Linked DNA regions of Homo sapiens: regions 2 and 3 are each linked to region 1. Evidence: promoter capture Hi-C in human tissues and cell types (Jung and others, 2019). All regions are on one chromosome and are shown on one strand. The core of a region is centred on a gene start or on the middle of the fragment in contact, and the rest is flanking DNA. Distances in the headings are between cores, read along the strand shown.

The links. The method cuts DNA at HindIII sites, captures the fragments that hold promoters and counts their contacts. A contact is called where the count stands out against the background at its distance.
Region 2: a fragment that was not itself captured here is called in contact with the fragment with the promoter of SLIT2 in region 1 in 3 of the 25 tissues and cell types used here (mesenchymal stem cells, mesendoderm cells and thymus).
Region 3: a fragment that was not itself captured here is called in contact with the fragment with the promoter of SLIT2 in region 1 in 2 of the 25 tissues and cell types used here (IMR-90 fibroblasts and heart left ventricle).

What each region holds. Positions count from the first base shown.
Region 1 is chr4:20,249,595-20,253,161 of GRCh38, forward strand. SLIT2 (slit guidance ligand 2) reads left to right here and starts at 2,311. Exons shown (of 37, transcript NM_004787.4): 1 at 2,311-3,567. RefSeq lists an enhancer at 3,427-3,567. The HindIII fragment of the contact is 10,378 bases long and covers 1-3,567 here.
Region 2 is chr4:19,173,766-19,177,067 of GRCh38, forward strand. No RefSeq gene overlaps it. Among named protein-coding and RNA genes, the nearest start is that of LINC02438, 280 kb to the right of the region's middle. The HindIII fragment of the contact is 3,662 bases long and covers 128-3,302 here.
Region 3 is chr4:19,142,817-19,146,301 of GRCh38, forward strand. No RefSeq gene overlaps it. Among named protein-coding and RNA genes, the nearest start is that of LINC02438, 310 kb to the right of the region's middle. The HindIII fragment of the contact is 8,731 bases long and covers 1-3,485 here.

The DNA.
Region 1 (3,567 bases), core at 1,061-3,560:
TTCTTCAGGCTGGGTTTAACAGTGAAAGAGAAACTCAGAAATTCATATGGGAGCAAAATAATCCATAAAGAATTAAGACCTAGAAGTTAATGTTTCTGAAGCCTGCAAGGCCTTCAACAAACATCCTGCAGTAATACTAATGGAATAATACAGTAATATGTTAAAGGACAGGAGACCTGGTTGTTTATGTATGTATAAAATTCCCCTTATCAACTAAAAAGTTAATAACGCAAAAAATAGTAAGATATGCCTCTCAAGAATTAATTACAGTCTTTCTTTTTTCTGAATGAAATCCACTGAACATAGCTTCTTATTTAAATTGGCTTCAAATTTTAAAAAGATGTTTCTGTAGGCATGTTGCTATGTATGTTAGTTTCTCCTTGGTTTTACACAAAACAGAAAGTGATCAGAGATAGAATGAAACTTGAACTTATGTCTGTGAATTTCACTTATGCAACAATATCAATAATATTATTTATAAATATTTGGAATGCAGGATATGTTCTTGGAATTAAAATATGGAACAACAATTCTATGTGGTGCACAAAGTTGAACACAAACACCTCTTGTTGCTGACAAGATATTAAAGTTGTGAAATTAAATAAATTAATGTATCAGCAACCATATTTAACCACATAATTTACTGGTACACACTAAGGAAAATTCACTGAGGGTTGGGGGAGCTCCTTCCTCAATGACAGGTACTTGTTCTTTATCTCATTTTCCTTACAAGAAAATGTGACAAGGGCTTCTTTTTTCTCCTCCTCAAGGAAGTTACATAACAGACCTTTAAGCTAAAATCTAGAAGGACAAATGAGTTAATAAATGTCAAATGTTTTTGAAGGTTTTAAAAGAATAGAGCAATATAAATCTGTGGCATTAAAATGAGTAATCCTAAGAGTTCCAATTCAGTTATCAGATGGTACCCTGCCTTTGGGCGTGTCCTCGAAAAGGCTTACGTTTTCCAAGGCAGGCAAAATGAGGTAAGTAGGGGTAGCCATTATGAAAGGACATCTTAGAAAATGTTAACCAGGAAAAACGTTAATGAGGATATTGCAGAGATTTTAGGTTGAGCATACTCTTGAGTTAAAGAAATCGGTTACTTATGAGGAAACCTATTATGTGGCAGGCATAGATGCTGGAAATACAAAGAGTTGGACAGGTCTTGCTTTCAAGGAAGCTTCTAATAATTATACAAATAACTACTACAATATGAGGCTGGTATTAGGCGGGGGCTTGCACAAATTCCAGGGAAAGCTTCTTAACGTGGAAATGGGAGGAAGAACAACAATATGATGCATATTAAATCCAAGAGAAGGAGCAGAGTCATTTAGATGTCATTTCAAACTTACAGTGACATTGGCTCTTGCTGGGGGGGAAAGGGGGGCGAGAGAGGCAGCCGTTGCCAGACATACGTCACACTAAAGAGACAAGATGAAACAAGGAAATTCTCTTTCAAAACATAGCGGGGAAAAAAATATCCAGAACTGCCCTGAAATAAAGAAAACCTTCTGGTATAATGTGCGTTGCTAGGGATTTATTTTTTCCCCTCCTTTCTCTCATAAGAGAGTAAAAAATCACACAGATACGTTCAAGCCCTTAAGAGTTTTGTGAGCCTATTGAATATCCAAGACATCAACTGACCACGGTGTGGTTCAGTGTGTGTCTACAAAGGAAGGGTTAAACGGAAGGGGGTGGCTTGGAGATAGAAAGGCAAGCAAGAAGGTTGGAAAATGCTGTTTTCCAACTTGCAAAAACTGAACTTTTCAGCTCCCCAAAATACACGTGTGTGTCTGTAAGCGCAGGCAGATCTATTTCGGTAGGATTTTTCTTAAATTTAAATCATAATTTCTCTGTTTCTGTCTCTCTGTCTCTTGCTGCGCTGCAAAGAGTGAGCAGCCCCCTTAAGGATCGCGTGGCAAAAGCTGCAGGAGAGGCACTGGCAGGGCTGTTTATTTATGAGCCGCGTTCAAAGCCGACCTCTTCCCATTCTCCCACTGCAAACGACTATCTCCGAGCCCAGGTCACCTCTGGGGCCAAGGAGTTGGGGGCTGGGGCTCGGGTGGCTCCTTCTTCGGGCCAAGTTTGCCCGCGCGTGGGAGCGAGGGGGCGAGCCAGGGCGCACGGGAACGCGCGCCGCCAGCCGCCGCCTCCGCCCAGCGCTGGCAGCCCCGGCCTCACCTCTCCCCTCTCCCCAGCGAGGTGCGGGCTCCCAGAGCGGAGCCAGGGGGCGGGCCTGGGCCTCGAGGGGCGGGGTCAGGGGGCGGAGGCTCGGGCGGCTATATAAGGCCCGCGCCGGCTCAACTTCGGACTTGGTGTTATTTATTTGGGAAGCGCCCGGACGGCGGAGCTTGGCGGCGGCGGTGGTGGTGGCTGCCGCAGACTGTGGTTAAAAAAAAGAAGGCGGCGGCGGCGGCGGCGGCGGAGGCGGAGGCAGCTGCGAGGCATGGGAGCGCCGAAGCGCCCAGGCGCAGGCCGAAGCTGCCGCGCTTTCTGGGCACGGCGGGAGTGCTGAGCAGAAAGGGGAGCGCCGGGGGCCCGCAGCCGGCTCCGGAGGCGCGGGCCGGGTTTTTGTTTGGCTACGCTGAGCGCCAGTCAGCCCCAGCGAACAACTCCAGTTACGACAACAACCCACCTTCCTTCCAGACAAGCGAGACTTGGGCTGCTGCGTCCGTCCTATTGTTTAGACACTTGCCAGGGGCTCCGGAGTCGGCAGAGCCACCGAGTCCCCGCTCTGAGTCGTCGCCCTCCCTCTCCCCGACCTCGCTCCCTGGAGCGGGAGGCCAGGAAAGCAGCGGGAGAGGGGAAGGGGCTAGAAGGAGAAGGACTACCCGGGACTGCGGCCGCCGCGTCAGGTGCAGCGCCAGGAGCCGGGCGGCGTCGCCACGCCGGCAGGGGTACCGCCACTGTGGCCTTGGGGGACGGAATTCAAAGCCTGGGAAAAGTTGCTGCACTTTGAGAAGGACGAACCACTAGTGGGAGACCGCCGGGGGCCGGCCGTGGCTCTGCGCCCTCCGGAACCCGGCTCTTGTTTCTTCTACCTTTGCCATCAGGTGTCTGCCGCGGAGCTGCGGCTTATCTGGGAGACGAGCGGGGTTGACACGCGCGCACACACTACTGCCATTCAGCTGCCGCCTGGCTCTGCCTGGAGTAGTGGATCCCACCCGCCCACCTGCCACCGAGCCATTCTCCAGTACGCCCCAGCAGGACGCTGACACCTCCAACCTTGGCCTTTGCCTTTCCACTCCTTCCGGTCTGCCTGGTTTTTAAGTCCGCCCCCAGTCAGTCCCCACTCAGTCTTCGCAGCAGCTCTCATCCTCCACTTGGCCTCTTGGAGTTCCTCGCCGGAGTGCTGACTAGTGGATATTTCTGCCCGGCTGCGGCGGCCCGACTGCCCTTTTGTCTTTTCTGCGTGACCTCGGGGCAGGTCCTGGTGCAGAGCGTCGCCAAGGACGCCGAGCGGGAGGCGGGATTGCCCAGACATCCTTCAGCGAAGTGCATGTGTGTTTGTAAACCATCGTTGGCTGTCGGGAGACCGCGAGGACCGGTCCAGGCTGCGGCGGAGTC
Region 2 (3,302 bases), core at 709-3,208, 1.1 Mb before region 1:
CTATCATCACAACAACAAATATAAATTGGACCTTCATTGGCTCTCAATGATCTTTTCATCCATCTCTTACTAAATCCATTTTTATTTTATATCAATTCTATTTAAAACCTCCCACTTCTCTTTGAGCTCCTGGTTCTTTACTCTCTTCCTCTCATGGTTAACAGATGATCTTGCTTTTATTCATTGTTCATACAAGAACAAATGAACAGTAAAGAAACACCTAACTACTCATATTATACTTGGAATTTCTACAACAAATGAATTCTATCTCAGAGTTCTGAAATAATTTAAAATTAATCTCACTGAACCAATGAAAGTACACTATTTATAAAATATGAAAAAGCGAAACAGTACAAAAATCTAAAGGGAAAAGAAAAAAAAAATAATTTTTTTTTTTTGTTCAAAGAGAAGTTGAAGGTAGTTTGCACGATATAAGATGAGAATTCCATGCCCAAATTTTGGCAAAAATGATGATAGATATTTTAAATGCTGTCTTATATTTGAATTTAAAAATTTTATGTATAAAAGTAAAATACTTGTGATTGCATTTGATGGCACTGGATGCCATTATCCCTAGCAAACTAACACGGGAACAGAAAAACAAATACCGCATGTTCTCACTTATAAGTGGGAGCTAAATCAAGAGAACACATGGACACAGAGAAGGGAACAACACACACTGGGGCCTATCAGGAGGTAGAGGGTGGGAGGAGGGAGAGTATCAGGAAAAATAACTAATGGGTATTAGGCTTCATACATAGGTGATGAAATAATCTGTACAACAAACCCCCATGACAAAAGTTTACTTAGATAACAAACCTGCATTTGTACCCCTGAACTTAAAAGTTTAAAAAAATCAAAAAATTAAAATTAAAAAATGTAGAACACAGCAAATTTGAAAAGTATACTACAATGGGAAGCAATAAATAAATAAATAAATAAAAACAAGGAAACTTCCACCTTGCAATGATAGATTTATTCAGATTTGTTATGAATTGTTTGTCCACTTATCTCCTTTGTCATCATTACTTATGTGGAGTAGATTTTTTTTCAAACCACTGACTTTAGGTTTCATATGGACTTCTTTTGGCCAAAGAAATATGATTGGTTTGAGTGTGGTGCTCAAGCCTATGCTTTTAGGAGCAGTGCAAGTTTTTGTTTTGTCAATCTTCTTGCATTGTTGGAATGCATGTTGGAATGAATCACTGGAAACACGTTGCCCTCTTGTGTTCTTGTCCTCCACCAAAGGTAACTCAAGAAGAAAGTGTTCCTTCAAAGGACATCTAAACTCAGTCTGCACACTCAAGCCAAGCTCACAGAAGACCAGCCAAGACCAGTGAAATCATGGAGGCTTTGGAATGCTTTGAGGTACAAAACTCAAGCTTTACTTAATGTGAGTGAATATTTGTTGTAAGCTAATGAAATTTTGCATTGGTTTTCATGTACATAATCTAGTAAATGCTGACAAACATATGCAACATCCCAATATCTCTTTACCCCTTCACTGAGTGAGATGGGTAGAAAAGAATTGTGAAATATTTTAATGTGTTTTTATAAAGCAATGTTATTATGTATACCTTTATTCATAGTTAGATGAATTGAGGTGATATTTAAATGTAATTTTCTAGCATAACATTTTTATTTAATATTGCCTATGATAATATTATTTTATAAAGTGCATTTGTAGTGGGTGCATACTATTCCATAATACGAAGTTTCAAGTTTATTTAATGGAAATAAGCTTAAAGGCCTACATTGTTAGACCATTACATTGTTTTCAATTATATTTTACACTGGAATGAACCTCTTTGACCTCATTCTTGTTTATGTCACAGACAAGATATGAGTTTCCCAAAATAGACTTAATTTATCAAAATAAACATGTATTTTAAGACTGCTGATGCACATAGGTTTTGTCATCTAGAAACTTTGGAGTAACTTACCCTTCCATACCCAACTTATGAAGCTTCATATTTTATTGTATTCTCATTACCATCAAATATTAAAATTTCTAAACATTTCCTAATTGCATAGGCAGAAATGACATCTTGTTTTAATTAGGGGTTAAACGCAATTTAACTATTGAACTGTAAGCATTAGAAGACAATTGCTAATCAAGAGTCAGGCAATGATTACAGTGGATAAGGTATACAACATTAATTTATTTCATGCTAACATTGTTTCCTTTTGAGAGGAGCATCATAGAGATGGTATGTAATAGATGTCTGGAGACATAATATAGTATATTAGTATTTGAGTTGTTGCAATGATTTAAGGGTCCTATAGGCATTTAGTAGGTAGAGGCCAGAAATGCCACATTGTTTTGCAGTGCATTGGATGGTCCTTCATAAAAGTGTCTCGTCTCAAATGCTAAACACAATTTCCTTGAGAATCATTAGACTATAAGATGTAAATTGGGTCAATGGCAACCTAAGTGATCTCTGCAAGATCAATGATAATGCTTTTCTCTTGGCCTTCTCTCTTTTTCTCTTTTTTCCTCTCATTCTCCAGACACACACACACATACAAACACACACACATAAACACATGCAAATACTAAATATTTAATTATAAATTCATGTAATGACTTGAATGTGTATAGCAGTAACATGTAGTTCAAATTCATCAGCAGCAAATAGAAAAGTTTGACCAATGTCCTGGCTGAAAAAACAGATTCCAAGAATGTAAAGTATCAGAATGAAGGATCAAATCCTATTTTATTGTGGACATTTACAACACTCCTTCTTCTCTTATAGAACTGAATCCATTTTAACTTGTATTGACATCGTTTGAATTAATTTTTTCACTTAGACTCTATGTGCCTTGACAGTATACCATTACTAGTCAACTCTGGAACGTGGTATATTTTAATTACTCTGTATCTATTTAACAACATAAAGAATAAGTGAATGAATATCATCACTTTGCATCTATTCTCTATATAATCCCACTCACCAAGAAAATTGATGTTGGTAAAACGTACCATTAAAAGTTTGGACAGGAAAAAAAGAAACCACCCAAGTATTTTTAACAGGAAGGAATCTAAAGCAGGAATAGTCACTTGAAAACCCATGGAAAGTGCTATGGGAGCAATAGTTAGTGAGAAATTATTAACTTCTGGAAAATTAGGACACAAGGAAATTGAGTGCAGATGTTGCCAATAATCTCAAAAATGAAGCAGGTAATTTGAAGAAGTTTACTCAGAACCTGTTGAAAACTGTACCTCTGCCCTCTGCCCACATTTCCCCTAGCTTCTACTATAGGAGAATGGTAATGACTACTCCTTTCTAGCCATGTTCTAA
Region 3 (3,485 bases), core at 84-2,583, 1.1 Mb before region 1:
GGAAGAAAATCGTGGAAAGACTAGACTGGCCTAGCCCCCCAGCGTACATCTTTCTCCCTTGCTGGATGCTTCCTGCCCTCAAGCAAGAGACTCCCAGTTCTTCAGTTTTGGGACTGAGACTGGCTGTCCTTGCTCCTCAGCTTGCCGACAGCCTATTGAGGGACATTGTAATTGTGTGAGTTAATACTTAACAAGCTCCCCTTTCATATATATATATATATATATATATACACACACACACACACACACACACACACACACACATACACTTTCCTGAAAGTATACACACACATATACACATATGTGTGTGTATATATACATATATACATACATATACATTATATATTAATACATATATGATATATATTATATATAAATACATATATATTATATATTACATGTACACATATATATGCACATATATATAAATATATATACACACACATACATATATATGTACGCCCCTTTAGCTCCAGTGTGTATACATATATACACACATATATATGTGTGTGTGTGTATTATATATATATGTGTGTGTGTGTGTGTGTATATATATATATATATATATATATATATATATATATATATATATAAATTAGTTCCATCCCTCTAAAGAACCCTGACTGATACCAATTTAATTTAGTCTAAAAGTGTTGCTCTCATATAACATAAGGCAATTCAGCCACCTCAGGTATTAAAACAGTCAGTTCTTATTCATGAAAAACAGCATCCTGAAAAGAAATTATGCAGAAAGAGGGATGACAAGTTCCATGTTCCCATCCTTTCCTCTATTGGGACCCTCACCAAATATGTTCCCTTTGACAATGAGCGGCTTCAGTGCTGTGCTCTTTTGTATTTATCTGCCTTTGCTGGAGCTGCTTTCTCTACCAGGAAAACCATCTCCAGCCCTCCCATTCTCTGCCTAACTGTTAATACCTTGTCATTGTTTATGGATCAGCATTTGAACAATGTCCTGTGAGTAGAGTTTCCTGGTGATCTCCATACTCCCCGTACCTTCCTGGAATTCACTTCTGTTCCCCAGGCCACAACTCCAGGGATAAACAGTCACATAAAATCCTCCAACTGGAGTCTCTGGGAGATGGCCTGCTCTCTACTTTGTATCTCTTAAGAGCCTTTGTATCTCTCTTCATGCCTATTTCACTGTGAAGATCTGAAGGCCATGGTCTATAACAAGAAATGAAGTGTTCAGCAGTTTGTGGTAAAACAAACAAAAAAAAGTGAAAAACTGTGATTTTAAAAATAAAGTCCTACATAGGAAACGGAAAAGATGTAATGACAAACATGCCAAAAATGATTGCAACAAAAGCAAAAATTAACAAATGGGATCTAATTAATCTTAAGAGCTTCTGCACAGCAAAATAAACTATCAACAGCATAAACAGACAACCTACAAAATGAGAGAAAATTTTTACAAACTATGCATCTAGCAAAGGTCTAATATCCACATCTGTAAGGAACTTAAACAGATTTACAAGAAAAAAAACAAACAACCCCATTAAAAAGTGGGCAAAGGACATGAACAGAGAGTTTTCAAATGAAGACATACATGCGGCCAACAAGCATATGAAAAAAAGCTCAGTATCACTGATCATTGGAGAAACGCAAATCAAAACCACAATAAAATATTATCTCACACCAGTCAGAATAGCTATTACTAAGAAGTCAAAAAATAACATGCTGGCGAAGTTGCGGAGAGAAGGGAATGCTTATACACTGTTAGTAAGAGTGTAAGTAAGTTCAATCATTGTGGAAAGCAGTGTGCCAATTCCTCAAAAACCTCAAAACAGAAGTACAATTTGACCCAGCAATCCCATTACTTGATATATACCCAAAGGAATATAAATCATTCTACCATAAAGACACATGCACATGAGCATTCATTGCAGCTCAAGTCACAATAGCAAAGACATGGAATCAACCTAAATGTCCATCAATGACATATTGGATAAACAGAATATGGTACATATACACCGTGGATATTATTCAGCCATAAAGAAGAATAAGACCACGTCTTTTTGGGAACACAGATGGAGCTAATGGTCATTATCTTTAGTAAACTAATGCAGGTACAGAAAACCAAATACTGTGTGTTCTCACTTATAAGTGGGAGCTAAATGATGAGAATACATGGACACAAACATGGGAATGATAGGCACTGGGGCCTACTTGTGGGTGGGGGTTAAGAGGAGGGAGAGGATCAGAAAAAAATACCTACTGAATACTAGGCTTAGTACCTGGATGATGAAATAATATGCACAACAAATCCCCGTGACATTCGTTTACCTATATAACAAAGCTGCACATGTACCCCTGCTAAAATCAAGAACAAAAGGTAACATTAATGACAAAATAAATACTCAAAATATGAAGTTAAGATTTAAAAAGAGCAGGCTACAAAGCTATAGCTATGGGGTGATACAAATTATGTACCTGTGTAGGTATATAGATGTAAGTATAGGTACTAACGTATGTACTAATACACACACACACACACACACATTCATTCACATTTTCCCACACTGTGACTAAAAGCACATATTTGAGAACACCCTTTGTCAATAATCATAATACATCTATTTTTCATCTTTGTCAACTAGATAGGCAAAATATGTTATTTTAATGTAGATTTCAGCTATTAATAAATATTATTTGGCAAAAAGAAAATAAGATAAATATATCAATTTAAGAATCTGACTTAATCTGAAAGTATGTTTTATATATTCAGTGTTAATTTTTCCCCTAGGTTATAAAAATGCATTTGTAATTAGTTATCTTAATGTCTGGCAAAATCAAAAGCTGGCAACCAAATTTGAGTTTTCAAGTAAAATCAATATACTGCTCTATAAAATCCACAAATCTGCTATAGCATCTGTCCACGTTTATTACAAATGCTTCTTTATATCCATGGGTACTTCTGCAGATGCTGGATTTGGGAACAGTAGAGATGGTGCCTTATTCATCTGGAAACCAGGACCTGATACAGCAGATGCTTAATGAATATTCTCTGCAGAATGGTTGGAATTTGGAAAGATAACGAAAAGGTAAGTAAAGTGGTAGAAATGTTTACTTTAGTCTTCTCTTCTTCTGGGCACAATTTACAGAAATATAAAAAGGTCCTCTCTTCAAACAATGTGGTACTTGAACAACTCAGTATTTGTAAGAAGTATTTTCAGTCTCTCCGATATGCCTGTTTCTATCTATCTATATGAGTATAGGTATATGAAAAAGAAAGAGTCTATTCTATAAACTAAAACTGATTATGATTATACATGTGATCATGAAAGAGTATCCTGTGTGCCTAGAAATATACAAATAATGTAATAATAATGCTAGCATTCATTCATATGATATTTATGAAATTCCCTAAGAGTTTCACAGCCTCATTTGATTTTCAGAAAACTCAGGGAATTGCGAAATTTGCTTCCAGGTGGAAGAATCAGAGAGCTTCATTTACTAAATCAGGG